Linked DNA regions of Homo sapiens: all the other regions are linked to region 1. The links are contacts of gene promoters, found by promoter capture Hi-C in blood cells and fetal thymus (Javierre and others, 2016). All regions are on one chromosome and are shown on one strand. Each heading gives the region's core, a stretch centred on a gene start or on the middle of the fragment in contact. The rest is flanking DNA. Distances are from core to core; before and after follow the strand shown.

Region 1 (4,638 bases), core at 457-2,956:
AGGTGGATCACCTCAGGTCAGGAGTTGGAGATCAGCCTGGCCAACATGGCAAAACGCCATTTCTACTAAAAATACAAAAAATTAGCCGGGTGTGGTGGTACACACCTGTAGTCCCAACTACTTGGGAGGCTGAGGTGGTAGAATCTCTTGAACCCAGGAGGCGAAGGTTGCAGTGAGCTGAGATTGCGCCACTGCACTCCAGCCTGGGCAACAGAGCAAGACTCTGTATCAAAAAAAAAAAAAAAAAAAAAAGAAAAGAAAGAAGGAAATTCTAACACATGCTATATGAGGGCATTAAGCTAAGAAACAAGCCAGTCACAAAAGTCAAATACTGGAAGATTCCACTTATATGAGGAAGTTAGTGTAGTCAAAATCATAAAGACAGTAAGTAGAATGGTAGTTGCCAGGGGCTGGGGGGAGGGAGGAATGGGGAGTTATTTTTTAATTAGTATAGAGTTTTAGTTGTACAAGATGAAAAGAGTTCTGGAACTAGATGGCAGTGATGGTTGCATATTATGAATGTATTATCACTAAACTGCACACTTTAAAATGTTTAAGATGGTGAATGTTCTTATATTTTACAACTAAAAAAATAAAAAATAAAACTACACATAGTGAAGAAGTAGGAAATGAAGTTGCAACCAAACGGATCAATATTTTGAGTGGGAAATCTAATACTTAATTCAGTGCTAATTTTTATATTTTTAGTAGAGACAAGGTTTCACCATGTTGGCCAGGCTGGTCGTGAACTCCTGACCTCAAGTGATCTGCCCGCCTCGGCCTCCCAAAGTGCTGGGATTACAGGTGTGAGCCACCGTGCCCGGCCTCACGCCCTTCTCTTAATTCCATTTTCTCTCCCCTCTGCCCCTTAATACACTGCACTTAACCTTGTCATAAGCCAAGGAGGACCTGAAATAAGAATACTCAAAACACGGTTGAAATAAACAAGAAGACAGAAACTAAAGCCAGCATTTTTTTTTTAATGCTTGGTAACTGTCCCTTTGTGTCTCCCTAAGTGCAGGATAAACTTCTTGGGGCAAATACAAACGTTTGATAAAATTCTGGGCCAAGGAGTCCTGCACTGGATATATTCAACAAATTACCTGCCGATGATAACAGCGTAAGTCAAACGAGTTCTAAAAGTAACAAATGACTTAGTTATCTGGATAAATCCGTCCTTCCTTTTCTTTTTCACCTAGCCCTTTTGTCGGGCCTCTAAAATGTAAGATAACTACGTGGGAAAGCAAGCAGCGGCTGGTGGTGTGTTTTTACCCTGATTTTATCACTCCAAGTATCTACCGTGGCTGGTTTTGCGAAGACTAGCTTTGTATCAGAATGAGGTGTGGCTGGAACGCCTGAGGAAAGCAAACCAAGTTTTCCAGAGGACGCCGTTGACAGCGTCTCCGCACACCGCGCCGGGGTAGGAACTTCCTCCCACCTGGTTCGCCCGGCGGGGAACCAATAAAGTTGAGCGCGTTCAAAGGGGTCCTAATCTTCCAGGGTCCACTGGGCAGGCCTGCAAAATAAGGCCCCTAGAAACTCCCTGAGGTTTTCAAGTCTTCTCCCTCTCCTCGGAATTTTTTCCCCTTCATTCGCATTACTTTTATTCTGACGGAAACGGCGCGGGCTAGGCCCCAGGAGGGGCGCATTTCAGGTGCAACTGGCCCGGCGATCGCGGCGGGCAACCCCTACGAGGCCCCCGGTTGACTAGGAGCTGGCGGTCCGAGCTGTGGCTTGGAAGACCGACGCGATGAAGCCCAGACCTGCAGGGTTCGTGGATAATAAACTCAAGCAGCGAGTCATCCAGGTGTGTATTCTGCACCGCTTGGCCTCGCCAAGGGCCCCGATCGCTGCCCCAGGGTGCCACTCCCCTTTTGTCGGGTGGCATCCAGGTGGAACTCAACTAGTCTTCTTTCCCCAGTCTGGGTCTGGGCGTGCGTCTGTTTCTCCTTAGTTGGTGCTGCCGGGGCCTTCCCTACCCACGTTGGTGCGGAGTCTCAGGGAGAAGCCGGGGATGGTGGGAGGGTGCAGCTTGGTAGGGCTGCCCAAGTTGTCTGGTCGTCTTCAGCGCAGATCATTCAGTAGAGTGGAGGTAGCCTTTGAATTTTAACCTCTTTGGCTTGTGAAGTTAGCACAGGAATGGTCTTCAAACGCTCGCATTGTAAGAGGTCCTTGAGAAGGGGTGGCATAAATAATATGTTAATTTCCGTTCTCAAGGAACTTACACACTAAAACGAGATAACATGGGTCTGGCAACAGTAACAGGCACTTTGCCTACGGTTTTCTCATTTTCATGACCATCAGTAAAAAGCAGTGTGTGGCAAATACCTCAGAATGTAAGCAAGCAGTCTGAGTTAAAAGGTGGGAGAGAATTTTCTTCACTTAGGAATTTGTGAGCTACACATTCTCCTTGTTTTTCTTTCACTTCACCAGCCCCTAAACAATCTCCTTTTCGGACCCATCTTTTCCTACCAACTTGTAAATGTTGGAAGTGCTCTGTGCCACTGTTCTCTTACCTCCCCTTCCTCCTCTTTCCTCATACACCTTTCTTATCTATCCATACTTCCTATGTGATCTCATTTAGTGTAATAACCTTTGAGTAGTATCTACATACTCTATTATCTATGTATTTATTTCATTTTATTTTTATTTTTCTGAGACATAGTCTCGCTCTGTTGCCCAGGCTAGAGTGCAGTGGCTGTTTATGGGCACAATCATAACTCACTGCACCCTCGGCCTCCCTGACTCAAGTGATCCTCCCTCCTCAGCCTCCCCAGTAGCTGGGACTACAGGTGTGCACCACCACACCTGGCTAATTTATTATTATTATTATTATTTGTAGAGACGGGGTTCCACTATGTTACTCTGGCTGGTCTCTAACTCCTGGGCTCAAGCGATCGGGCCTCAGCCTCCCAAAGTGCTGGGATTACCGGTGCAAGCTGCTGCACTGGCCTCTGTATATTTATGACTGCTAACTTTATATCTCCAGTCCAGATTTTATCTTGAAGTACAGATTGATATATCCAGCTGCCTAGTCAGCATATCTCCAAATTAAAATGGCCAAGTGGAATTTGTGATTTTTTTCTTCCTTCAAATCTGCCCTTTCTTAGTGTTCTGTATCTCAGTAAATGATACTACCGTTCGTCCTGTTGTTAAGGCCAAAAACCTTAAGGATCATTCTGAGTCTTTCATTTCCTGTATACCATCTGTCAACAGCCTGGTTGGCTTTACTTTCAAAATATATTCCAAGTACTTCTTACTGTCTTTCCCTGTAACCATCTTAGTCCAAACCATCATCTCTACCTTATACTATTACAATAGCCTCCTAACTGATCTCTCTGATTCTGCTTTTACCTAAAGCCTATTCCCCACAGAGCAGCCAGAGACATCTAATTTTTTTTTTTTTTTCTGCTCACTGCAACCTCTGCCTCCTGGGTTCAAGTGATTCTCCTGCCTCAGCCTCCCGAGTACGTGGGATTACAAGTGCATGCCATCACGCCTGGCTACTTTTTGTATTTTTAGTAGGGATGGGATTTCACCATGTTGGCCAGGCTAGTCTCGAACTCCTGACCTCAGGTGATCTGCCCGCCTCAGCCTCCCAAAGTGCTGGGATTACAGGCGTGGCCAAGACATCCTTTTAAAGGGAAAAATCGGGCTAGGGGAGGGATAGCATTAGGAAAAATACCTAATGTAGATGACGGGTTGATGGGTGCAGGAAACCACCATGGCACCTGTATACCTATGTAACAAACCCGCATGTTCTGCACATGTATCCCAGAACTTAAAGTATAACTAAAAAAAAGGGGGGGGAAATCAGAGCTTGCCATAGCCCTGCTCAAAACCTTTCAGTGGAGTCACAGACATCTAGAGTAAAACCCAGTCTGAAAAGCCCTGCATATTCTGGCCTCTGTTGTCCTAGTTTACTTTTCCTCTCCTGTCCCAGCCACACAGACCTTCTCAAACATGCCAAGCACAGGACCTTTGTTCTCGTTGTTCAGTCACTCTGAATTACTCTTCCTCTGGATGTTCCCGCGTCCCACAACTTGCTCCTTCACTTTATTGAGGTTTCTGAGCAGTGACTCCTAATTACTGGATCTAGTGGCCTCTTCTCTGTCCTCACACTTGACTCTTTTCAGCGTTTGACATTATCAGTTTTCCTCTATAGCTTTCACTTTGGTTCATTATAAAAGTACAAATGAATATCCCTTATTCTAAATGCTTAAGACCAAAAAATGTTTCAGATTGATTTTTTTCAGGTTTTGGAATGTTTGCATATACATAATGAGATATTTGGGGATGGGACCCAAGTTAAACATGAAGTTTATTTATGTTTCATATACACCTTACACACATAGCCTGAAGATAGTCTTACACAATATTTTAAATAAATTTTCACTTAGCTATATATTTAATTTAATTTTAATTTTTTATTTTTGAGACTGGGTCTAGCTCTGTCACCCAGGCTGGAGTGCAGTGGTGTGAACACTGCTCACTGCCATCTCAAACTCGTGGGGTCAAGTGATTCTCCCACCTCAGCCTCCCATGTAGCTGGGACCACAGGTATGCACCACCATGTCTGGCTAATTTTAAAATTTTTTGTAGAGATGAGATCTTACCACCTTGCCCAGGCTGGTCTCG
Region 2 (5,110 bases), core at 2,197-4,696, 170 kb before region 1:
GGAATCCCTTTACCAAATGTCGCTTGGAGCCCAGAATTTCAGCCAGTCTGCATAAGAATAATGTCCTACATTTTTAAAGAACACACCATAGTTTACAAAATGCTTGCACAAAACTGTCCCATTTGATGATGACAATGGGTAACATTTACTGAGAAATTTATAATAAACCAGGCACTACACTAGCTCATTCCAGCCTTAACAGGGTGCTAGGAAGTAGGTTGTAGTCTTGTCCCTCCCAGGTGAGAAAACAGAGACCAAGGTCAGCTAACATGTGGCAACAGTAGGGTTTCAGGTTTGAACCTAGGTCTAACTCGGGAAGGCATCATCCATACAGTCCTCAAAACAGCCTGTTTAAGTAAGTAGGGCAAGTACTGTATCCATTTTTCAGATGAAGAAACTGAGACTTAAAGGGAGCAAGGAAATGAATAATTTAACTCCACTAATAACTAAACCAGGTTTTATCACCCAGTCCTCAAGTCCCCTCCACCCCACCTCCAAGTTTGCCTTCCCAGGCCTGAGGGCGTCTCTGTCCCGGCACCCCTCCCTCCTGGAGCGGCCAGAGGCCTCAGAGCCTGTGGTTGCTGTGGCCTACAGCACAGCGTGCCCGAGCCTGCAGGGCTGGGCCTGTTATTCCACAGTAGTTGGCACTCCCACGGCAATCCCTGCCAGAGGGCTGGGTCGGGTTTCCTGTCTATCTCCCTTGCCACAGCTGTGTTTTCAATAGGGAAGTCGCCTGCTGCCTCTCCTGGGGGAGGACCACACTCCACCTCCCCTTGCTAAACACCAGGCAGCCCTGTGCGGTTGCCAGGGTTGTGTGAGGATAAGATTAGGAGGGGACCCGCCCCTGTGCAGGCCTGAGCAGCTGGACAACCGCCCATGAGACACGGGCTTCCCCGAGGCCCAGGCTGTCACCTCGGCTCTGGGAGGCCCGGTGGGGTTGCAGACAGCAGCGACAGCCCTCCTCCTGCAGGGGAGCCACCTGGCTGTTTCAGAGTGAGAGTCCAGGCTGCCTGTGGGGTCAAAACAGGAGGAAGAAGGAAATAAGAGGGGGGAGGGTGACAGAGACAAGAGGAACAAAGACAGAAGCAAGGGAGGAAAAGACAGAGAGGAATTAGGGCCAAAAGACCGACAAGGGAAGGAGATGTGGAACACTCTGCGGTCCTGGCTTTCAGCAAGTGCAGCACCCGTGCCTCAGGCTCTCCCTAGCTGATAGGAATTTTAATTACACACAATTAAATTGTATATGACATTTAGTACATTGTGTTCTAAATAGTGTATTGGATTTGAATACAAACTAAAGGCCATCTTCTTTCTCATCCTCCTCCCAAAAAGGTGGTGACTTCATCCGTGCAGAAGTCTCCCAGGTTTCCTCCGCCCCTGCCCCCACCTCCCTCCCTCCCTCCCTCCCCGGGAGAGCTGTTTGCCTTCCTTCTGCCCTTCTGGGGTTGGCACCCAGCTGTTTCTTCCCTCCTCCTCCTCCCTCACCCTCCAAAGCTCCGATCCCATCACCTTAGCCTGTGTTCTACCCCCTGTCAACTCACAGGCTTTCAACATCTCACCCTTCCCTCCACCTTTTATGTCTCTGGGCTCTGTTCCCCACCATTCATATGGTGTTTAAATCCACGGCTTCCTTTCAGTGGTTAGAGAAGGGATAAAAGCTTCCCTTTATGTTTGCCAGTGTTTAAATTGCTTCTGAAAACACCCAGCGGTGAAAACTATGAAAAGGGGACAGTCTTTTCAGCTGATTGTTTATGTAGAACTCGGCAGGGAATGTAAGCAGGGGGGTTGCTCAGTAATTACTGGACTCCATTCCCCTGGCACGGGCCCCGCCCTCCCTAACTCTAGAGGTGGAATGGCAATCCACCTCCCCACGCTGCAGGTTACACTGGTGCAAGAGTGCCTAGACCAGGAGGAAGGCTGTTCGTTCTGCTCATGCAAGCCAGGAGGCTCTGGAAACAGGCAAAGTGGGTTTAGCGATAAAGAAATAGGCCAGCCTCCAAATAAAAGGCTTTCGGCTCTTGCTCCATGGCTGTGCCTTTCAGGAGAGCTGGGCTTTCGGCTCCAAAGGCTGCCCTTCTCCTCTTTCCTCCATGCTGTCCACATGGAGTCTCTATCACGAGATACTTCTGCTGACCAGCTACGTTCACAGAGATCATTTCTGGCTGCAATCTCACTCACACCACTTATTTTATCCCAGTAGATGTTTGTTTCGGCCCCTAATTTCCATTCCCTTGGGCCAGTAAAGTGACTTGATTCCCTCTGTTTCTGAGGACCCCAAGAAAACCAGGGCTTCACTCTCCGGGAGCCGTATCTGCAGCACTCCTGGGTTCTGCCCACAAGTGGTATCCTCAGGGAAGACCCCTCTGGGCAAACCATTCTGAACAAGGCCCAGAGGATCCTCTGCTCACCTGCCCTCCCCACATTCTTCAGCACCTCCCTCCAGTTGCTCATGAAGCCTCCAGGTCCTCTGCCCCTCCACCCTACCTTCCTCCAGCCTCCTCACCACAGAATCATCTCCAACAGGGACCCCTCTTCCAGGAAAGTAGCTGGTCACAAACAAATTTCTGTATAAAGCAGTGGCTCACGCCTGTAATCCTAGCACTTTGGGAGGCCGAGGCAGGTGGATTGCCTGAGCTCAGGAGTTTGAGACCAGCCTGGGCAACACAGTAAAACCCCGTCTCTACTAAAATACAAAAAATTAGCTGGGCGTGGTGGCACGCACCTGTAATCCCAGCTACTCCAGAGGCTGAGACAGGAAAATCGCTTGAACCTGGGAGACGGAGGTTGTAGTGAGCCGAGATCGCGCCACTGCACTCCAGCCTGGGCGACAGAGCGAGATTCCATCTCCAAAAAAAAAAAAAATTCTGTATAAAACATTATCATGATTAAGAACATGAACTCTGGGGTTAAAAAAAAAAAATATATATATATATATATATAGGTTCAAGCCTATGCTGCTGTCTGCTGAGCATGTGACCTTGGGCAATTCGCTTATATCACTCTAAGCTCCAGGACCCTCATCTGTAAACTGGATACAATAATAATAGTATCTGCCTCATGGTGCTGTTGTCAAGATTAAATGAGATTAAATAAAATTATGAGAAGAATTCTTTACAAAGTGCCTTTCACCCAGTAAGCTCTCAATAATGATAGTATTATTGCCCATGACCATTTATTCAACACTCTTAAACCCCTACAATGAACAAAGTATGACTCCGCCTACCTCAAGTGTCTTTCTGTTCAATATAGGAGTCAAATATACAAACAAGTGGACATAAAACAAAGCAGAATTAGTAAATGCACATGAGATAGAAACATGATATGCTTTAGAGAGTAGAGAGATGAAAAAAAAGATTACTGTTTCCAGAACAGAAGAGGCACAGCAGCAGAGGTGGCCCACGAGCAAGGCTTTGAAGCATAAGCAGGGCTCTGATCAGTGGAAGCAGATGGTAGGTTCCAGGAAGTGGCAGAAGGGGAGGCATGGAGATGTGATGGTGCAGGGTGTGTGGAATGCACAGATGCCGGCTGCTTCCTCGGGTTCCAGCCCCCCTTCTTCCATCCTAGCAGCCTCATTGTCCACTTAGGCATCCACTGCATTGTGGGGAGTCTTGAGGTCAAGGGAAATCGTGCAGCAGGTAGCCACTCAGCACATCCCAGCCCACTGGCGACTGGGGTTGGTGCAGGGGCAGATGTACGTCAGAAACAAGTCTACTCAGATTAAAGATCAGTCATGAATGCTGGGGAAAAGTCATTCTTTTTTTTTTTTCTTTGCTTTTTTGTCTCACTCTGTCGCCCAGCAGGTTGGAGTGCAGTGGCACAATCTCGCCTCACTGCAACCTCCGCCCCCTGAGTTCAAGCCATCCTCCCTCCTCAGCCTCCCAAGCAGCTGGGACCACAGATGCATGCCACCAAGCCTGACTAAGTTTTTGTATTTTTGGTAGAGATAGAGTTTCGTCATGTTGGCCAGGCTGGTTTCCAACTCCTGAGTTCAAGCTATCTGCCTGCCTCGGCCTCCCAAAGTGCTGGGATTACAGGCATGAACTGTTGCACCAGCCAAGTCATTCTTTCTTTAGAGACATGAGATGAAGGCTGCTGGCAACCATTTTGGGACCATGAGAATTAGGAAGAAATTGTGGCCAGGCACAGTGGCTCAGTTTGTAATCACAGCACTTTGGGAGGCTGAGGTGGGAGGATGACTTGAGACCAGGAGTTCAAGAGACCAGTCTGAGCAACATAAGGAGACACTATCTCTATAAAAAAAAAAAATTGTTTTAATTAGTCAGGCTTGATGGTGCAGGCCTGTAGTCCCAGCTACTAAGGAGGCTGAGGTGGGAGGATCACTTGAGCCCAGGAGGTCAAGGCTACAGTGAGCCATGATTGTGCCACTACACTTCAGCCTAGGAGACACAGTAAGATCCTGTCTCAAAAAGAAAAAAGAAAAAAGAAAGAAAGGAATTAGATCCTTGGGGAATTGTTGAGCCTTACCCAAAGCCCCACTCTGACACTAGATTTCTTTTTCTTTTCTTTTTTCTTTTTTTTTTTTTGGTAGAGATAGGATGTCGCTATGTTGCCCAGGCTGGTCTTGAACTCCTGGCCTCAAGCGATCCTCCTGCCTCAGCCTCCCAAAGTGCTGGGATTACAGGTGTGAGCCACAGTGCCCAGTCAGCTGACTCTAGACTTCTTTTGTCCCAGAAGCAAATAACGGCGTGTATTGTATAAGGCAGTTGAGCTATGCTTTTCAGTTTCTTGATGTTCAAAAAATGACCCGAAATAGAGAGTTATAAAAAATTGAAACTAGAAAGGTATTAGAGGGTTAAATCATGAAAGGCTTTCCTTGCCCCATTCTAAGGCATTAGACTTTATGCAGGCAGTAGGAAATCCCATTGAAAACTGTTGAGGAGGGAGGTGGCACATCAAATCTGTTTTAGGAAATTGATGGCAGGATGAAAGATAGACTGGAAGGGAGAGGGATTAGAAGCAAACCAACAAAAACAACGATTGATTAGTCATGAGTCTCGGCTGGTAAAGGACATTTTATCAAATATCTCCAGATGTCCACATGGCCTGGAGTGGGGAAGAGTAAGAAAGCAGAGATACCTATGGCAACCTC
Region 3 (4,686 bases), core at 157-2,656, 140 kb after region 1:
GGATCTCGCTCTGTCACCGAGGCTGGAGTGTAATGGCGTGCAATTTCAGTTCACTGCAACCTCCGCCTCCTGGGTTCAAGAAGCGAAACTCCAGCCGTGGGCGGTGGCTCAGGCCTGTAATCCCAGCACTTTGGGAGGCCAAGGCGGGCGGATCACGAGGTCAGGAGATTGAGACCATCCTGGCTAACACGGTGAAACCCCGTCTCTACTAAAAATACAAATTAGCCGGGCGTGGTGGTGGTCGCCTGTAGTCCCAGCTACTCGGGAGGCTGAGGCAGGAGAATGGCGTGAACGCGGGAGGCGGAGCTTGCAGTGAGCCAGATCGAGCCACTGCACTCCAGCCTGGGCGACAGAGCAGGACTCCATCTCAAAAAAAAAAGAAAAAAAGAAGCGAAACTCCTACCTCAGCCTCCTGAGTAGCTTAGGACCACAGATGCACACAACACCAGGCCCGGATAATTTTGTTTGGAGTTATTCTTTAGAGGTTATGGGGCCCAGCCTTCTTACTGCCCAGATTGGTAGCTCTCTTAAAGAATGGATCGAGTTGGCAGATGGGAGCCAGAATAATCGGGATGCCTGCTACGAAGACTGAAACTTCCATTCAGGAAAGAAGTGGTTATGTAAGTGGAGACTGGAGTTTTGGAGAGGGATGACAACCCACTCTGTGCATCCAGCAGGTAGTGAGAGGTCTGAAGTGATAGATTTGGAGGTTTTCAGCATTTACATGGCAGCTGCAGCCATTGGCTAAAGTTCTTTTGGTTGTTGTTTTTTTTTTTTGAGACGTAGTCTCACTTTGTCGCCCCGGCTGGAGTGCAGTGGCTCGATCTCGGCTGACTGCAAGCTCCGCCTCCTGGGTTCCCGCCATTCTCCTGCCTCAGCCTCCCAAGTAGCTGGGACTACAGGCGCCGGCCACTACGCCTGGCTAATTTTTTGTATTTTTTACTAGAGATGGGGTTTCACCGTATTGGCCAGGATGGTCTTGATCTCCTGACCTCGTGATCCGCCCACCTCGGCCTCCCAAAGTGCTGGGATTACAGGCGTGAGGCACCGCGCCTGGCCTTTTTTTTTTTTTTGGAGACGTTGTCTTGCTCTGTCGCCCAGACTGGAGTGCAGGGCGTGATCTCGGCTCACGCAACCTTTGCCTCCTGGGTTCAAGCGATTCTCCTGCCTCAGCTTCCCGAGTAGCCAGGACTACAGGCACATGCCACCATGCCCAGATAATTTTGTATTTTTTTTAGTAGAGACAGGGTTTCACCATATTGGTCAGGCTAGTCTTGAACTCCTAACCTCGTGATCCACCTGCCTCAGCCTCCCAAAGTACTGGTATTACAGCCACCACGCCCGGTGCCATTGGCCAGAGTTCTATAGACTTGATGGGAGTACATGATCTCTATGATCTAGCATCAAATCCAGGGGTATGTTTTGCAGATACTTTAGTGACTGAGTAAAATCTGAATTGTAAACTTGGTTCTATTGTCACTCTTTGATTGTTCTTTGAGTAACAGATTAGAAGATACTAGGAATTTTCCTAGGCAAGGGGGTCAGGAAGGGAAAGCAAAGTATTTTGGGGATGAAATGAGGTCTGTGAGACAGGCCTGGCAGTCCCACAGAGGATTCTACTCCTCACCCCGCCCTCAGCATTCTGGGTGTTGTTTTATTCTTTACGAAACTGCAATGTAGCCAACTTTTTTTTTTTTTTAGAGGGTGTTTGTCACCCAAGCTGGAGCGTAGTAGTGCGATCATGGCTCATTGTAGTCTCAATCTCAGCCTCCCAAGTAGCTGGGACTACAGGTGCACACCACCACACCACTCTTATTTTTTGAAAAGATGGGGGCCAGACACAGCGGCTCATGCCTGTAATCCCAGAACTTTGGGAGGCCAAGGCAGGCAGATCACCTGAGATCAGGAGTTTGAGACCAGCCTGGCCAACATAGTGAAAACCTGTCTCTACTAAAAATACAAAAAAAAAAAAAAAAAAAAAAAAATTAGCTGGGCATGGCTGTGCACGCCTGTGATCCCAGTTACTCAGGAAGCTGAGGCAGGAAAGTCGCTTGAACCCAGGAGGCAGAGGTTGTGGTGAGGCAAGATTGCGCCACTGCACTCCAGCCTGGACAACAGAGCAAGACTCCATTTCAAAAAATAAAAAATAAAAAAAGATGGGGTCTCACTATGTTGCCCAGGCTGGTCTCAAACTCCTGGTCTCAAGCGATCCTCCTGCCTCAGCTTTCCGAAGCATGGAATTACAGGTGTGAACCACCACACCCAGCTGCTGATGTATTTTTAAAATAATTCACCATATTACACTAAACGTATCCAAGTGACATATTTGAGGTAAGCAAGACTGCTGACATAACAACAGCCCATGCTACCAGCTACTTGAGACCAACGATCTACCATCAGACCACAGCCAGTTCCCACTGCAGTGAAATAACATGAAAGTCTTTATCAGTTGAGCAGTTTCTAATGTGAGAGTCAACACACCTGAAAAATGAATTTGAATGGTGGAAATTCAGTAAGTACTTTATTTATGAGTAAGGCTGTACAGGATTCAGCAGTGTCTAATTCGGGTCCCATATAGAAGTTAAAATTTTTAAATGAGTAATTCAGCTTACAGGGAAATATATTTTCATCTCAATCTTTTATGCTATATCATACCTCAGGCTTTTTAAAAATTATTTTTGAGATGAAATTTTAAAGTTCCCCCGGTACCCAAGTTACCATATTATATAGTATAAAGATAGTGAAATACAAAAATGTAACAAATACTAATACACTGTGATTAATAGCTGTTTATTAGCTTTTTAATAAAGCAAAACTTTATAGTGAAATAAACTAGAAATAGCTTTTTATTTTTTATATATATTTATTTATTTTTGAGATGGGGTCTTGCTCTGTTGCCCAGGGTGGAGTGCAGTGGCACAATCTTGGGTCACTGCAGCCTCTGCCTCCGCCTCCTGGGTTCAAGCAATTCTCCCACCTCAGCCTCCCATGTAGCTGGGATTACAGGCATGTGCCGCCACGCCCGGCTAATTTTTGCATTTTTAGTAGAGATGGGGTTTCACCGTGTTGGCCAGGCTGGTCTCGAACTCCTGACCTCAGGTGATCCACCCACCTTGGCCTCCCAAAGTGCTGGGATTATAGGCATGAGCCACCGTGCCTGGCGAAATAGCTTTTTAGAAGCTTTTTAAATGATATGCTTATAAAATGACAGACATGAGTGAAACATCCTCAATGACGATAATACACAAGTCACAAGTTTCCTGTGAGTGAAACTGAGCAGTACAGAGTCAGGCTGACTGTTTAAAAGCCAGATTCACTTCTTGGTATCACCGAGCTCTTACTCTGAAATTGTGCCAGGGGAGCTTCTGAGCATCACTGGTCTCAAGTTTAATAATGCAAAAATTCCATTTTATCATCTAAAGTTTTGGAGAAGAATCCCTTTGGCACTAATGATATTTACTCCAGCACCATCTCTCCTTTTTGGTGCCTCTTCATTCTTGAGTAGGGACTTATTGTATCATCCATCACAAAATCATACAGTACTTTTATCCAGGAATTGTAGTGAGGGAGGTTGTCATAGTATTCAGCTGCTATTTTCCTCACCTAGAAGGGAAAAAATACAGCAAGATGAAAAATGAGTGTTACTAGGTTCTTTCAAAGATGACTGATGAATGGTTGACACAAACACTGAGAAGGGAAACCATGAGACCTGCCTCCCTCCTCTCTCTTAAAAAAAAAAAAAAGCAGCAGCAGCAGCAGCTGTGGGAATTCTAAACAAAAAGCAGTCTACATTTCAGCAGCAGTTGAATACACTCGACCCTCTAGGTCTCTCTCCCATCACATTCCAAGGGACTAAATATCTGGCTTATTTGTAAAATTAACAACAAATACATACAATTAGATTAACTTGATATTATTAAAGAATGTACTGCATGGATGACGCCATAGAATATAAAGGCAACATCTGATCCCTGCCATCCAGGAACTTACAAATACTAATAAATTGTGGCATGCTAATTAGATAGAAATTAAGCACTTGGCTGGGTGCGGTGGCTCATACCTGTAATCCCAGGACTTTGGGAAGCCGAGGCGGGTGGATCACCTGAGGTCAGGAGTTCGAGACCAGCCTAACCAATATGGTGAAACCCCATCTCTACTAAAAATACAAAAAAATTAGCCAGACATGGTGGCGTGCGCCTGTAGTCCCAGCAACTCAGGAGGCTGAGATAGGAGAATTGCTTGAACTCGGGAGGCGGAGGTTGCAGTGAGCCGAGATTGTGCCACTGCACTCCAGCCTGGGTGAGAGAGAGACTCCATCTCAAAAAAAAAAAAAAAAAAAAAAAAGCACTTATCAAATGTGCAATTCTGCCATCTCAAGTTAAAAATGTCTTTTCATCTCAAGTTAAAAAACTATCTGGATGGGCACAGTGGTTCGTATGTATAATCCCAGCATCATTCTGGAAGGCAAGAGAATCACTTGAGCCCAGGAATTTGAGACCAGCCTGGGCAACACAGGGAAACCCATCTCTCTCTTTTTTTTTTTTTGAGACGGAGTTTCGCTCTGTCACCCAGGCTGGAGTGCAGTGGCACAATCTCGGCTCACTGCAACCTCCACTGCCCGAGTTCAAACGATTCTCCCGCCTCAGCCTCCCGAGTAGCTGGGACTATAGGTACCCGCCACCATGC
Region 4 (4,398 bases), core at 331-2,830, 180 kb after region 1:
TTTAAAGGAGTGCCACATGGAAAAAAGAGGGTAATGTGACAGTTTCTATCAGGAAAGGCAGGAATAACATGAGATGGGTGGTTGGGAAAGGATTCTTTGCCATTTGTAAGGTAAGACTGAAGGATGAGGAAGAACTGATCAATTGAAGATATGGGGAGAAAAGTCTTTCAGGTAGAAATAGTAATGATAGTGGCCCCAAGGTCAGTGTCAGCTTGGCTTGTTCAAGGAGTTCAAGGACTAGAAATAGACAAATTTTATATATACATGTATATCTCCAAAGAGTAAATATTTGTGGAAGCTAGCTACTCAAAGCTTAAAAGTTATATAATATTTATACATAATCAAGAAATAGTTAATAAAATTAAAAATATAAACCAAAGTAGAAAATCAGTATTTAAAGGGTCCTTCATACTGACTGATATTTTATGTATAGTGCTAGGATATTAATTGACCCATAGTAGTTTTGTGTTTATCAACGTTTTACATATGGGTTATATATAGGAAAAGTACCACAGTACTCCATAATTTTTTCAGACGGAGCTTCGCTCTTGTTGCCCAGGCTGGAAATGACATGGTATTGGTTCACTGTAACCTCCACCTCCTGGGTTCAAGCAATTCTCCTGCCTCAGCCTCCCAAGTAGCTGGGATTACAGGCACCCACCACCAAGCCTGGCTAATTTTTGTATTTTTAGTAGAGACAGGGTTTCACCATGTTGGCCAGGCTGGTCTCAAACTCCTGACCTCAGGTGATCTGCCTGCCTTGGCCTCCCAAAGTGCTGGGATTACAGGCATAAGCCACTGCACCTGGCCTTCCATAATTTTTAAATGTTGTCCCCAAAGGCTAATATGTTGCATCTATAGATACAAACTGGCCATCAGCCCTTTGAACTAAATCAAGTTCCCCACCTTTTTGCCCCAGGGCTTTTGCACATGCTGATCCCTTTCCTGGAATGCCATCCCTGTGTATCTCCCTCACTTCAAATTCCTTAGTTATACACGAGGTCACAGTAACACTGTACTTTCTCAGAAGTCTTTTCTGAACCCTCCTCCAATTTAAATCATGTTAACATCTTCATCCAACCCTTTATTCCCCTTCAGAACACACATTACAATTTGTAAGTACATCTTTTTGTTAATTTCTATCTTCCATATAATGTAGTAAACTCTATGACAGAAGAGATCATACCATGTTTCACTGTCAGATCCCCAGAGCCTAGCAGCATCTGGCACATGGCAGATACTCAGTAAATAAGGGGTAAAGATGGTTAAGTATATTAATTGTTTAACATTAATTGATACATCTAAACAAAACTGTTTAAGGGCAAATGAAAGGGTTAATTCAACACAAGAATTTGTTTTTTGGCTGGGCGTGGTGGCTCATACCTACGGTGCCAGCACTTTGGGAGGCCGAGGTGGGAAGACTGTCTAGGGACAGGAGTTTGAGACCAGCCTGGGCAACACTGTGAGCTCTGTCTCTACAAAAAATTAAAAAATTAGCTGTGCGCATGCCTATAGTCCCATGAGCTGTGATCAGTCCAGGTGATGGGGCAAGACTGTCTCAAAAAAAAAAAAAAAAAGATTATATGGTTTTTCAGAAGTCAGATGATTATGTTTTGAACACAAAGGTCATTGTAAACAAGATCTCTATTGAGACGGACTTGTAAAAATATAGAATACTTAAAATAGTACTTATATGTTTAATAAAATACCCACAGCCTTATTAATATACCTCTAGATATTATATGTTTATAAATACTGGTAGACAGAAGAATATTTATAGTGTATTTGGGCTAGAATAGGACTGTTGTAATGGTATAGGCATAAGACACAGATCCTATCCAGTGAAACATGACTCCATGAAAGACCCATAAACAGCAAAGCAAAACTCAGACTGTAATAAGTTCAATGTATAAGCAAAGTGCTGTGTGAAAACAGAGTAGAGATTAAGATCCAGTTGAGAGAACTGGGTAGGTCTAATGAAGGACATTAGTAAGTAAATTTCAACAGGTAAGGGAAGTTAGAGCAGGAGGAAGGTACACCTGGCTAAACAGTGTGGAGTTGAGCACAGGGATGATGTGGATGGATAGGTGATAGGATAGCAATTCAACATTTATACAGTAGTTATGCAGTACTATCATGTACCAAGCATTTATTCTAGGGTGTTTCTTTTCTTTTTTTTTTTCTTTTTTTGAGACGGAGTCTTGCTCTGTCGCCCAGGCTGGAGTGCGGTGGTGCGATCTTGGCTCACTGCAAGCTCTGCCTCCCAGGTTCACGACATTCTCCTGCCTCAGCCTCCCGAGTAGCTGGGACTACAGGCACCCGCCACCACACCTGGCGAATTTTTTTCTCTTTTTTTTGTATTTTTAGTAGAGACAGGGTTTCACCGTGTTAGGCAGGATGGTCTTGATCTCCTGACCTCATGATCCGCCTGCCTCGGCCTCCCAAAGAGCTGGGATTGCAGGCGTGAGCCACCGTGCCTGGCCGTTTCTTAACATATATTATACAATTAGTCTTTTTCCATGATACTTATTCTTCAGAATAACTTTCATTATCAAAATATCCTACAGGGATTGCTAACTGACAGTAAATTATTAGATCGGTTCCAAAGTAACTGTGGTTTTGCCATTAAAAGTAATGTGAAAATACATCTACAATTTGTGAAATATTATCTTTACTGTAGTCTTCTAAATGTAGTGTAAAAGCAAGTTCACTCTTTCCATTTGCCCCAGTCTTCCATTAAAAAAGAACATTTAAAAATCTTACTGTATAGAGATTATTTTAGTCAAATGGGATAATCTATGTTTTCAATAAAATTCAAAATAGTTTCTTTTCTTTGTCCAAAAGCTTTAAGCAGAGGATAAGGTGAAGGAAAGTATGTGTGTGAGAACCATACTGCTTCTACCATTCAGAGTTTTAAGTGGCTGCCATGGCTTTAGAGGTATATATTAAGAAAGCAAGGTATTTAACAAATTTTCAAAACAGTTCATTTTCTGAGTAGATTTAATCTTTTTTTTTTTTTTTTTTTGCAAATTACATTAACGAGAATGTAATGGTATGAGTTTTGAGGTCTAGTGGAAAGACCACAGGCCTTAGGAAGGTCACTTAAACTCTTAATGGCTGTTTCTACACCTTTCAAATGATATACCACATGTTGAACCTTACCCAGGCTGTAAGAAGTAAAATAGTCAGTCCCTCCGCATCCTCAGGGGTTTGGGTCCAGGACCACATTGTCAAAATGTGTGTGTGCTCAAGTCCTTTATATAAAATGGCATAGTATTTGCATATAACCTAGATCACCTCTAGATTACCTACACTACCTAATACCATGTCAAAGCTTTGTAAATAGTAGTTACATTGTACTATTTTAAAATTCATATTTTAAAAACAGCTGTGGTTTTAAAAATTGTTTTTCTTCTCTTTTTTTTTTTTTTGACACAGTCTCGCTCTGTTGCCCAGGCTGGAGTGCAGTGGCATGATCTCGGCTCACTGCAACCTCTGCCTCCGGGGTTCAAGTGATTCTCCTGCCTCAGCCTCCCGAGTAGCTGGGACTACAGGCGCTTGCCACCACGCCCAGCTAATTTTTGTATTTTTAGTAGAGATGCGGGTTCACCATATTGGTCAGGCTGGTCTTGAACTCTTGACCTTGTGATCCGCCTGCCTCGGCCTGCCAAAGTGCTGGGATTATAGGCGTGAGCCACCGCATCCGGCAATTGTTTTTCTTCTCTAAATATACATATATATTTTTTGACAGAGTCTCACTAAATATTTTCTATCCACGGTTGGTTGAATCCATGAATGTGGAACCCACGAATACAGAGCTGACTACAGGTTATAAAAAATATTTTTGGCCAGGCACGGTGGCTCACGCCTGTAATCCCAGCACTTTGGGAGGCCAAGGAGGGCGGATTACGAGGTCAGGAGTTCGAGACCAGCCTGGCCAATATGGTGAAACCCTGTCTCTACTAAAAATACAAAAATTAGCCATGCATGGTGGCACGTGCCTATAGTCCCAGCTACTCGGGAGGCTGAGGCAGAAGAATCGCTTGAACCTGGGAGGCAGAGGTTGCAGCAAACCCAGATCGTGCCACTGCACTCCAGCCTGGGCGACACAGCAAGACTCAGTCTCCCAAAAAAAAAAAAAAAAAAAAATTTTAGTTTTATAAAAGTACAGTACAGGCTGTGGCTGGTGGCTTATGCCTGTAATCTCAGCACTTTGAGAGGCCAAGGGAGGCAGGAGTTCAAGAGCAACATAGCTAGAAACAGTCTCTACAAAAATTAAAAAGTACACCATCACATTTCTAACACACAGTAGAAGTACCACGCTTATGTCTAAAATGGTACAGTAACAAATTATATACGATGAATATCATTTAGGCCTTTAGACTGTGGGTGAGAAAT
Region 5 (4,602 bases), core at 844-3,343, 240 kb after region 1:
TGGGATTACAGGTGTGAGCCAGCACGCCCAGCCAAGAGTTACATTTTAGTCAGGCCAATTTTAAAATATTCATGGTCAGGACTTGAAAGGAAAGAAAAATGGACTCATTAATTCATTTAGCAAAAATGTGTTGATCATCTTTAATATGCCAGGTATTGCTCTAGGCTCTTGGGATACAGCAGCAAACAAAACATACAAAATACATTCTAGTTAGGGGAGAGAAAAAACACATACAATCTGTAAGACAAGTTAAATGAAGAAAGATAAAGCAGGACTGAGGGATAGAGAGAGAGAAGGAATGCTATTATATGGGCCAGTCAGTGATGGCTTCTCTGATGAGGCCTCGGGATATCTGGGAGGATGTCAATGTTATTGAAGGCAAAGGCACAAGTCAAAGGTCCTGAGGCGGAAGTGTGCTTGGTGTGTTTGAAAAACAGCATAGAGGGCAGTGAGCCTAGTGAGCATAGAGAATTGTAATGAGAAGCGTAGAGGTGTGTGCGTTGAGGGTGGGAGAGAATATGTGAATGTGAGGGAGAGGGTTGGGGACAGATCACGTAGGTTCTTTTGCAGGCCATGTAAGCACTCTGGAATTTGTACTGAATTAGAAAGGAAACTATGGGGGGTGTTGAGCACAGGAGTCATGTGAGCAAAAATATTACAAATGGACCACTCTGGTCATGGCAGGGAGAATAGTGGAGAAGCCAGGAGGCTATGAAAGCGGGAGACCAGTTCAGAGTTTCCTGCATCAGTGAGAGGACAGTGGCTTGCACCAGGATGGAAGAGGGAAAAGTACTAAGAAGAGATCAGAGTCTGGGTGTCCTTCAAATGTAAATGAAAATAAAGAAAATGTAGATTAAATAGACAGAGCAGTCAAAGATGACTCCAAGATCTAAATAAATGAAAGAATGGAGTTGACATTTCCTGAGATGGGGAAGACTTGAGGAGCAGGTTTAGGGCAAGGGTTCTCTTTTGAACATGTTGTGGTTCCTTTTAAAATCAACTTAACAGATGGGCGTGGTGTCGTGTGCCTGTAGTCCCAGCTACTCAGGAGGGTGAGGCTGGAGGATTGATTGAGCCCAGGTGTTCAAGTTCACCTTGGGCAACATAGTCTTAAAAAAACCTTAATAATGGTACAATTTGCATATAATAAAGTGTACACACTTATTGGTACAGTTTGATGAATAATAAATATATATCCTCATACAACCACCGCCATACTCAAGATATAGGACATTTTCATTACCCCGAAAGGTTTCCTTTTGCCCCTTTCCAATCAGTTTCCATTTCCCACAGCCCCTGCCCCAAGCAACCACTGATATTCACTCCATCACCATAGATTAGATTTATTTGTGCTAGAGTTTTGTTAAATGGAATTATAGGCTTGGGGGAAAGGAAGATGAGTTAGACACAGCCCACTGGCTGGTACAATGTTTCCCAACTTTTTTTTTTTTTTTTTTTTGAGATGGAGTCTCTGTCACCCAGGCTGGAGTGCGGTGGCATGATCTTGGCTCACTGCAACTTCTGCCTTCCAGGTTTAAGCGATTCTCCTGCCTCAGCCTACTGAGTAGCTGGGATTACAGGCGCCCGCCACTATGCCTGGCTAATTTTTGTATTTTTAGTAGAGACGGGCTATCACCATGTTGGTCAGGCTGGTCTTGAACTCCTGACCTCGTGATCTTCCTGCCTTGGCCTCCCAAAGTGCTGGGATTACAGGTGTGAGCCACCATGCCCGGCCAATTTTCTAAACTTTTAAGTCCATGTCTTCTTTTATACCTTCTTCATTATCCTTTTTTTTGAGACAGGGTTGCACTCTGTCACCTGTGGTGTCAGAGGCTGGAGTGCAGTGTTGTGATCATAGCTCACTGCAGCCTCAAACTCATGGGCTCAAGCAAACCTCCTGCCTCAGCCTCTGGAGTAGGTGGGACTACAGGTGCACACCACCAAGCCCAGCTAACTTAAAATTTGTTTTTGTGGAAATGAGGTCTTGTGATATTGCTCAAGCTGATCTTGAACTCCTGGGCTCGACTGATCCTCCTGCCTTGGCCTCTCAAAGTGTTTGTGAGCCACTGTGCATGGCCCCTGTTATCTTTCATAATCATAGATATCTCAGGTCCTGTCCTGAGGTGCTGAGTGTATCCACAGAGAGGCACACCCTCATTTCCCCTGCTTTCTTATGACTCTGAGAATCATTGTTTCTTTGTATTCTCAGCAGCCAAGATTGTTTTTTGCAAATGTTACTTGTAGAAATTTTTACAGGGCTAGGTATGGTGGCTCACACCTTTCCCAGCATTTTGGGAGGCCAAGATGGGCAGATTACTTGAACTCAGGAATTTGAGACCAGCCTGACCAACCTGGCAAAACCCTGTCTCTACTGAAAATACAAAAATTAGCCGGGTGTGGTGGTGCACACCTGTAATCTCAGCTACTCGGGAGACTGAGGGAGGAGAATTGCTTGAACCCGGGAGGTGGAGGTTGCAGTGACCCAAGATCGTGCCACTGCACTCCAGCCTGGTCCACAGAGGGAGACTCCCTCCATCTAAAAAAAAAAAAGAAAAAAAAAAAGGAAAAGAGGAAGAAGTTTTTACAATGAAGATATGCATTTTTCCTTTAACCAATATAAATAATAGTATAACATTATAATGTGATTTCAATTTACATAGTCCACTTCTCCAGGTTCTGAGAAGTCCCCTTCATGGTTAGTTCTTTCCTTTGAGACTCACTTGTCTTTTTTTTTTTTGAAACAGTGTCTCACTCCATTTGCCCAGGTGGGAATGCAGTGGCATGATCTCAGCTCACTGTAGCCTTGACCTCCTGGGCTCAGGTGATTCTCCCACCTCAGCCTCCTGAGTAGCTGGGACTACAGGCACATGCCACTATACCTGGCTAATTTTTTGTGTTTTTAGTAGAGATAGGGTTTCACCATGTTGCCAGGCTGGTCTTCTGAGCTCAAGGAATCTGCCCTCCTCGGCCTCCCAAAGTGCTGGAATTACAGGCATGAACCACCGCGCCCGGCCTTCACTTGTCTATTCTAATAATCACATGAAATTAGACAGCCATAAGCATTGATCTGCTAAAGGACATTCTGGGAAGTTGTGCTGTGTTTTGCCTTATCCTGCCCCACTTTAAATGCTTGGTCTTTTATGCATGCCATTTAAAGATCACAGACCAAAGCAATTACTCATGTCTCTGTTTTATAACCTTTGGCTTCCTGAATTATTTTTAATAGTTCTTCCATAATCATACAATAGGTGCATTTATAAGGCCATTTGAATCTAGGAAATAATGAGCATTCAAATAGGCGAGCCAGAGACTTCAAATAGCTACGTGTGGCAGGACATTTTCCTGCTGGGCTGTGGAGGGTGGTTTCAGAGGATTTAGATTTCACAGCAAAGAATAAGTATCATATTGCAACTTCAAAATAAGAAGCTGTAAGTGTTTGAATCTAGTGTGTCTGAATAGCATATTTACAATTTGACTAGGGCCAGATGCAATTATGCCTGTAATCCAGCACTTTGGGAGGTCAGGGAGGGAGGATCACTTGAAGCCAAGGAGTTGAGGCAGACTGGGCAACACAGTGAGAACCATACCTCTACAAAAAATAAAAACATTAGCCAGCTGTGGTGGCACACACCTGTAGTCTCATCTACTTGAGAGGATAATGCGGGAGGATCACTTGAGGCTGGGAGTTCAAGGCTGTAGTGAGCTATGATGACACCATTGCACTCCAGTCTGTGCAATAGAGTGAGACCCTGTCTGTTTTCTTTTTTTTTGAGGTGTGTTATATATAAAGTTTCGGTGCCACAAAAGGAATAACACTCGAGTATAAAATTTTCTTTTTAATTCTCAGCAAGGCAAGGTACTTCTATATAGAAGGGTGCACCCTTATAGATGGAACAATGGTGAGCACACACTTGGACAAGGGAGGGGAAGGGGTTCTTATCCCTGACACATGTGGCCCCTGCTGCTGTGTCGTTCCCCTATTGGCTAGGGTTAGACCACACAGGCTAAACTAATTCCGATTGGCTAATTTAAAGAGAATGACGGGGTGAGTGCTTTGGCAGGAGTCAGGGCAGAGCAGGTAGCAGGTAATTGGAATGAGTTAGGGTGGAGCAGGTGATTGGAATGAGTCAGGGTGGAGTAGGTAATCGGAAGGAGTCAGGGTGGAGGGTAATCGAAAAAGGTTGCTTTACGAGGAAGTTAAGTTTAAAAGTAGAAGGCAAAGAATTGAACATACTGACATATTAATTATTTGAAAAGAAATTTAGAACTCATATCTAACAAGGTGGAGTCTCGCTCTGTCGCCCAGGCTGGAGTGCAGTGGCATGATCTCTGCTCGCTGCAACCTCTGCCTCCCAGGTTCAAGCAATTCTTCTGTCTCAGCCTCCCGAGTGGCTGAGACTACAGGCATGCGGCACCACACCTGGCTAAGTTTGTATTTTTAGTAGAGACAGCGTTTCTCCATGTTGGTCAGGCTAGTCTCGAACTCCCAACCTCAGGTGATCCGCCCAGACCTTCCAAAGTGCTGGGATTACAGGCGTGAGCTTTGGAAGGTCGAGGCGGGTGGATCACTGAGGTCGGGAGTTCGAGACCAGCCTGATCAAC
Region 6 (5,101 bases), core at 1,690-4,189, 160 kb after region 1:
TGTCTCTCCTCCCCACTGAGTTAGACAGCAGAGAGTCTTGCAGGAGGGGGAGGAGGAAAAGCAAAGAGAATAAATGGAAGACATCCTCCTTCCTGCCCTTCTCCACTGAAAAGGAGAAGCCCAACTCAAAGCTTCTCCGAAGTCCAACTCAGGCCTGACTTACAGAAAGAAGAAAGAAGCGGGAGGGCACAGTGGCTCATGCCTGTAATCCCAGAATTTTGGGAGGCCAAGGCAGGCAGATCACCTGAGGTCAGCAGTTCAAGACCAGCCTGTCCAACATGGCGAAACCCCGTCTCTACTAAAAATGCAAAAATTAGCTGGGCTTGGTGGCAGGCACCTGTAATCCCAGCTACTTGGGAGGCTGAGGCAGGAAAATCGCTTGAACCCGGGAGGTGGAGGCTGCAGTGAGCCAAGATCGCACCACTGCACTCCAGCCTGTGCGACAGAGCAAGACTCCGTCTCAAAAAAAGAGAAAAAAAAGAGGAAAGAAGCTTTAATCAATTGAGACAATAAAGTCTTTCTTCGGATCGGGCTGGATTTTTTAATAACTGGATAAAGGTGATTAATTTGTTAGTGACCAGGAGAGTCTACAAGGCTCTGGGATCTGCCTGAGATTCCTTCTGGGATCAGGGCAGAACAATGCAACAGGACAGTCTAAAAGAGCAGTTACTGAGAAGAAATGAATCTGCTTCCATTTGCACCCTTCCAAGTCTAGCTCATGCAAAAGCAGTTGTACTCAGATGACTATTTTACTCACCAGCAGCCACAGCTTATGAAAAAGGAAATTGACAAAGGAAGAGGGTGAAGGGGCATAGGCAAGAAGAAAAGTCTTGAACTAGTGAGCACTGAAATCAAAACCGCAGGCTTATGGTTAGAGAAATTTCCCCCATTTCATGTATGAGGAAGCGAATACTTCCAGAATGTGAGTGACGTGTCTTAGATCACACAGCTTAGAGTGCAGCAGAGGCTAAAAAGGGACAAAGGTTGTCTGGTTCCAAATCCCAAATAGAAGATGGACTCGATCCAGAGGTGACTCATGGTGGGGAAGGCAGGGGTCCAGGATCCAGGAAAACACCATGAACTGATAGAGCAGTTCTGCAGGATGAAGTAGCTTTTTCTATCTGTGTGAAGCCAACAATATGAATGAGTGGAGAAAAGAGCGCATAGCTTTCATTCTTCCAGAGTCTGAGTTTTGCAGGGGATTGACTGGGATTGAGAATACATTTGCAAGATATTTTGTTTTTCTTCCCAGGCTTTTGGTTTTTAAGAAAACAGTCTGGCCAGGCACAGTAGCTCACGCCTATAATCCCAGCACTTTGGGAGGCCAAAGCGGATGGATCACAAGGTCAAGAGTTCGAAACCAGCCTGGCCAACATGGTGAAAACCCGTCTCTACTAAGAATACAAAAATTAGGCTGGGCGTGGTGGCTCACCCCTGTAATCCCAGCACTTTGGGAGGCTGAGGTGGGTGGATCACCTGAGGTCGGGAGTTTGAGACCAACCTGAGCAACATGGAGAAACCTCATCTCTACTAAAAATACAAAATTAGCCAGGTATGGTGGCGCATGCCTGTAATCCCAGCTACTCGGGAGGCTGAGGTGGGAGAATCGCTTGAACTCGGGAGGTAGAGGTTGCAGTGAGCCCAGATCGTGCCATTGCACTCCCGCCTGGGTGACAGAGACTCCGTCTCAAAAAAAAAAAAAAAAAATTCTGGAGCCTGGGAAGTCCAAGATCAAGGCACTGGCATATTCAGTATCTGGTGAGGGGCTGCTTCCTTGTTCGTGGATGGCCGTCTTCTGGCTATAACCTCACATGGCAGAAGAGGTGAAGGAGTTTTCTGAGGTCCCTTTTATTTAATTAATTAATTAATTAATTAATTTTTTTGAGATGGAGTCTCGCTCTGTCACCCAGGCTGGAGTGCAATGGTATGATCTCAGCTCACTGCAACCTCTGCTTCCTGGGTTCAAGAAATTCTCCTGCCTCAGCCTCCCAAGTAACTGGGACTACAGGTGCACCCCACCATGCCTGGCTAATTTTTGTATTTTTAGTAGAGATGGGGTTTCACATGTTGGCCAGGGTGGTCTCAAACTGCTGACCTCAGGTGACCCGCCTGCTTCGGCTTCCCAAAGTGCTGGGATTACAGGCGTGAGCCACCGCACCCAGCCTGGTGTCTCTTTTAAAAGAACACTAACCCCATTCATGAAGACTTCACCCTCATGAACATAATCACCTCCCCAAAGCCCAACCTCCTAGTCTCCTCCCCTTGAGGATTAGGCTTCAAGGCATACATTTTGCGGGGACACAAACTTTCAGTCTATAGCAGCTGGTTTAATTGTTGAATACACTTCCATGGTTTAAAAATAGAAAAACATGGCCGGGCGCGGTGGCTCACACCTGTAATCCCAGCACTTTGGGAGGCCGAGGCAGGCGGATCACGTGGTCAGGAGATCGCGACCATCCTGGCTAACATGGTAAAACCGTGTCTCTACTAAAAATACAAAAAATTAGCCGGGTGTAGCGGCGGGCGCCTGTAGTCCCAGCTACTCGGGAGGCTGAGGCAGGAGAATGGCGTGAACCCCGAGGGGCGGAGCTTGCAGTGAGCCGAGATCGCGCCACTGCACTCCAGCCTGGGCGACAGCGCGAGACTCCGTCTCAAAAAAAAAATAGAAAAACATACAGGTGTCTAGTGATAAGCTCCTCCCAGCTCCTGTTCCTGTTGTTATGTTGTCAAACCCCAAAATATAACCACTGTTATTGATTCCCTGTGCATTTTTCTAGAATTTTTTTTTCTTTTCTTTTCTTTCTTTTTTTTTGACATGGAATCTCACTCTTTCTCCCAGCCTGGAGTGCAGTGGTGTAATCTCAGCTCACTGCAACCTCTGACTCCCAGATTCAAGTGATCCTCCTGCCTCAGCCTCCTGAGTATCTGGGACTACAGGCACAGACCACCATGCCTGCCTAATTTTTGTATTTTTAGTAGAGGTGGGATTTCGCCATGTTGGCCAGGCTGGTCTCAAACTCCTGACCTCAAGTGATCTGCCCCCCTCAGCCTCCCAAAGTGCTGGGATTACAGGCATGATCCACCGTGCCCGGCCTAGAGTTTCTTTATGCATATGCATGCCACTACTTAGCAGTACAGTCATGAACTGCTTAAAGATGGGGATGTGCTCTCAGAAATGCATCAAGTGATTTTGTTGTATGAATATAATAGAGTTTACTTACACAAACCTAGATGGTTTAGCCTACTATATACACCTAGGCTATATGGTACAGCCTATTGATGCTAGACTACAAAACTGTATGGCATGTTACTGTTCTGAATACTGTAGGCACTTGTAGCACAGTGGTATTTGTGTATCTAAACACATAAACATAGAAAAGAAGCAGTAAAAATATGGTAGTATAATCTTATGGGACTGTCATAAAATATGCTGCTGCTTGTTGACTGAAATGTGGTTATTCAGCATGACTCTATATTATTTCCCTCTTTATTTTTCACAAAAGTTAGTATACTGTAATATTGTTCTGTATTTTGTTATTTCCCTTAGCAGTCTTGGAAATACATATATATTTTTTTCTTTTAGAGACAGAGTCTCACTCTGTCTCCCAGGCTGGGGTGCAGTGGCACAATCTCAGCTCACTGCAACCTCCACCTCCTGGGTTCAAGTGATTCTCCTGCCTCAGCCTCCTGAGTAGCTGAGATTACAGACACACGCCACCATGCCTGGCTACTTTTTGGATTTTTTAGTAGAGACAGGGTTTCACCACACTGGCCAGGCTGGCCTCAAACTCCTGACCTCAGGTGACCCACCCACCTCGGTCTCCCAGAGTGCTGGGATTACAGGCATGAGCCACCACGCTGGCCTTTTTTTTTTTTTTTTCATTTTGAGACGTAGTCTCGCTCTGTCTCCCAGGCTGGAGTGCAGTGGCATGATCTCAGCTCACTGCAACCTTTGCCTCCCGGGTTCAAGCGATTCTCCTGCCTCAGCCTCCCGAGTAGCTGGAATTACAGGTACCTACCACCATGCCCAGCTACTTTTAGTATTTTTAGTAGAGATGGGGTTTCACCATGTTGGCCAGGCTGGTCTTGAACTCCTGACCTCAAGTGATCTGCCCACCTTGGCCTCCCAAAGTGCTGGGATTACAGGCATGGGCCACCATGCCCGGCCAGAAATATTTCTTAGCATATAGATAATTTTCTTATTTTTACTGGTGCCTAGTATTCTATTGTAAGGATATATCCCAATTTATGAACCCTGTCTCCTATTGATGGATATTTTATTATTATTTTTTGAGACAGGGTCTTACTGTCACTCAGGCTGAGTGCAGTGGCAGCTCGCTGCAGCCTTGACCTCCTGGGCTCAAGCGATCCTCCTTTCTCAGCCTCCCAAGTAGTTGGGACTACAGGTGTATGCCACCAAGCCTGGCTAATTTTTTTTTTTTTAATTTTTAAATTTAAAATTTTTGTTTTTGGTAGAGACGAAGTCTTGGTATGTTGCCCAGGCTGGTCGTGAACTCCTAGATGCAAGCGATCCTCCCACCCTGGCCTCCCAAAGTGTATTTTTAAAAATAATTTCTTTATTCTCAAATGATAGTGACTGGATTGATACTGGTGGGAATTGTAATATAAATTTCCTGGCCGGGCACGGTGGCTCAAGCCTGTAATCCCAGCACTTTGGGAGGCAGAGGCGGGCGGAACACGAGGTCAGGAGATCAAGACCATCCTGGCTAACGTGGTGAAACCCCATCTCTACTAAAAATACAAAAAATTAGCCAGGCGAGGTGGTGGGCGCCTGTAGTCCCAGCTACTCGGGAGGCTGAGGCAGGAGAATGGCGTGAACCTGGGAGGCGGAGCTTGCAGTGAGCTGAAATCGCGCCACTGCACTCCAGCCTGGGCGACAGAGGGAGACTCCGTCTCAAAAAAAAAAAAAAAAAAAAAAAGACACCAAAGGCGATGAAACTGTTTTCTGTTTGGGATGGCTGATGGTCATGACCTCTACTGGTTTCAAGAACTGTCCCTGACCAATACTAACTTTTGTATTTTCTTCCTGCTTTCTCCTCCCTTTTACTCTCCTTCCTCTCTTCTCTCTCTCCATTTTCTT

What was found. The method cuts DNA at HindIII sites, captures the fragments that hold promoters and counts their contacts. A CHiCAGO score of 5 or more calls a contact.
Region 2: a contact is called between a fragment that was not itself captured here and the fragment with the promoter of NVL in region 1, in 1 of 17 cell types (erythroblasts). The highest score is 6.0, in erythroblasts.
Region 3: a contact is called between a fragment that was not itself captured here and the fragment with the promoter of NVL in region 1, in 2 of 17 cell types (total CD4 T cells and naive B cells). The highest score is 5.1, in total CD4 T cells.
Region 4: a contact is called between a fragment that was not itself captured here and the fragment with the promoter of NVL in region 1, in 8 of 17 cell types (naive B cells, total B cells, total CD4 T cells and 5 more). The highest score is 9.5, in naive B cells.
Region 5: a contact is called between a fragment that was not itself captured here and the fragment with the promoter of NVL in region 1, in 4 of 17 cell types (neutrophils, naive B cells, total B cells and 1 more). The highest score is 7.3, in neutrophils.
Region 6: a fragment that was not itself captured here is called in contact with the fragment with the promoter of NVL in region 1 in 13 of 17 cell types (naive B cells, naive CD8 T cells, total B cells and 10 more); the score reaches 13.6 in naive B cells.

The regions. Positions count from the first base shown.
Region 1 is chr1:224,327,240-224,331,877 of GRCh38, reverse strand. NVL (nuclear VCP like) reads left to right here and starts at 1,706. Exons shown (of 23, transcript NM_002533.4): 1 at 1,706-1,807. The coding sequence starts at 1,751. RefSeq lists enhancers at 1,489-1,638, 1,659-1,708, 1,899-1,948, 1,999-2,138. The HindIII fragment of the contact is 14,633 bases long and covers 1-4,638 here.
Region 2 is chr1:224,499,336-224,504,445 of GRCh38, reverse strand. It overlaps a transcript of CNIH3 not described here. Among named protein-coding and RNA genes, the nearest start is that of WDR26, 67 kb to the right of the region's middle. RefSeq lists enhancers at 3,203-3,703, 3,704-4,204. The HindIII fragment of the contact is 3,572 bases long and covers 1,661-5,110 here.
Region 3 is chr1:224,191,249-224,195,934 of GRCh38, reverse strand. DEGS1 (delta 4-desaturase, sphingolipid 1) reads right to left here. Exons shown (of 3, transcript NM_003676.4): 3 at 2,494-3,603. The coding sequence ends at 3,457. Among named protein-coding and RNA genes, the nearest start is that of DEGS1, 10 kb to the right of the region's middle. RefSeq lists an enhancer at 1-13 and a silencer at 3,307-3,376. The HindIII fragment of the contact is 3,553 bases long and covers 1-3,182 here.
Region 4 is chr1:224,146,454-224,150,851 of GRCh38, reverse strand. The region is part of intron 3 of FBXO28 (F-box protein 28); the gene reads right to left. Among named protein-coding and RNA genes, the nearest start is that of FBXO28, 35 kb to the right of the region's middle. The HindIII fragment of the contact is 2,532 bases long and covers 315-2,846 here.
Region 5 is chr1:224,086,208-224,090,809 of GRCh38, reverse strand. No RefSeq gene overlaps it. Among named protein-coding and RNA genes, the nearest start is that of FBXO28, 26 kb to the left of the region's middle. The HindIII fragment of the contact is 8,369 bases long and covers 1-4,602 here.
Region 6 is chr1:224,164,936-224,170,036 of GRCh38, reverse strand. No RefSeq gene overlaps it. Among named protein-coding and RNA genes, the nearest start is that of DEGS1, 16 kb to the left of the region's middle. RefSeq lists an enhancer at 1-916. The HindIII fragment of the contact is 4,891 bases long and covers 494-5,101 here.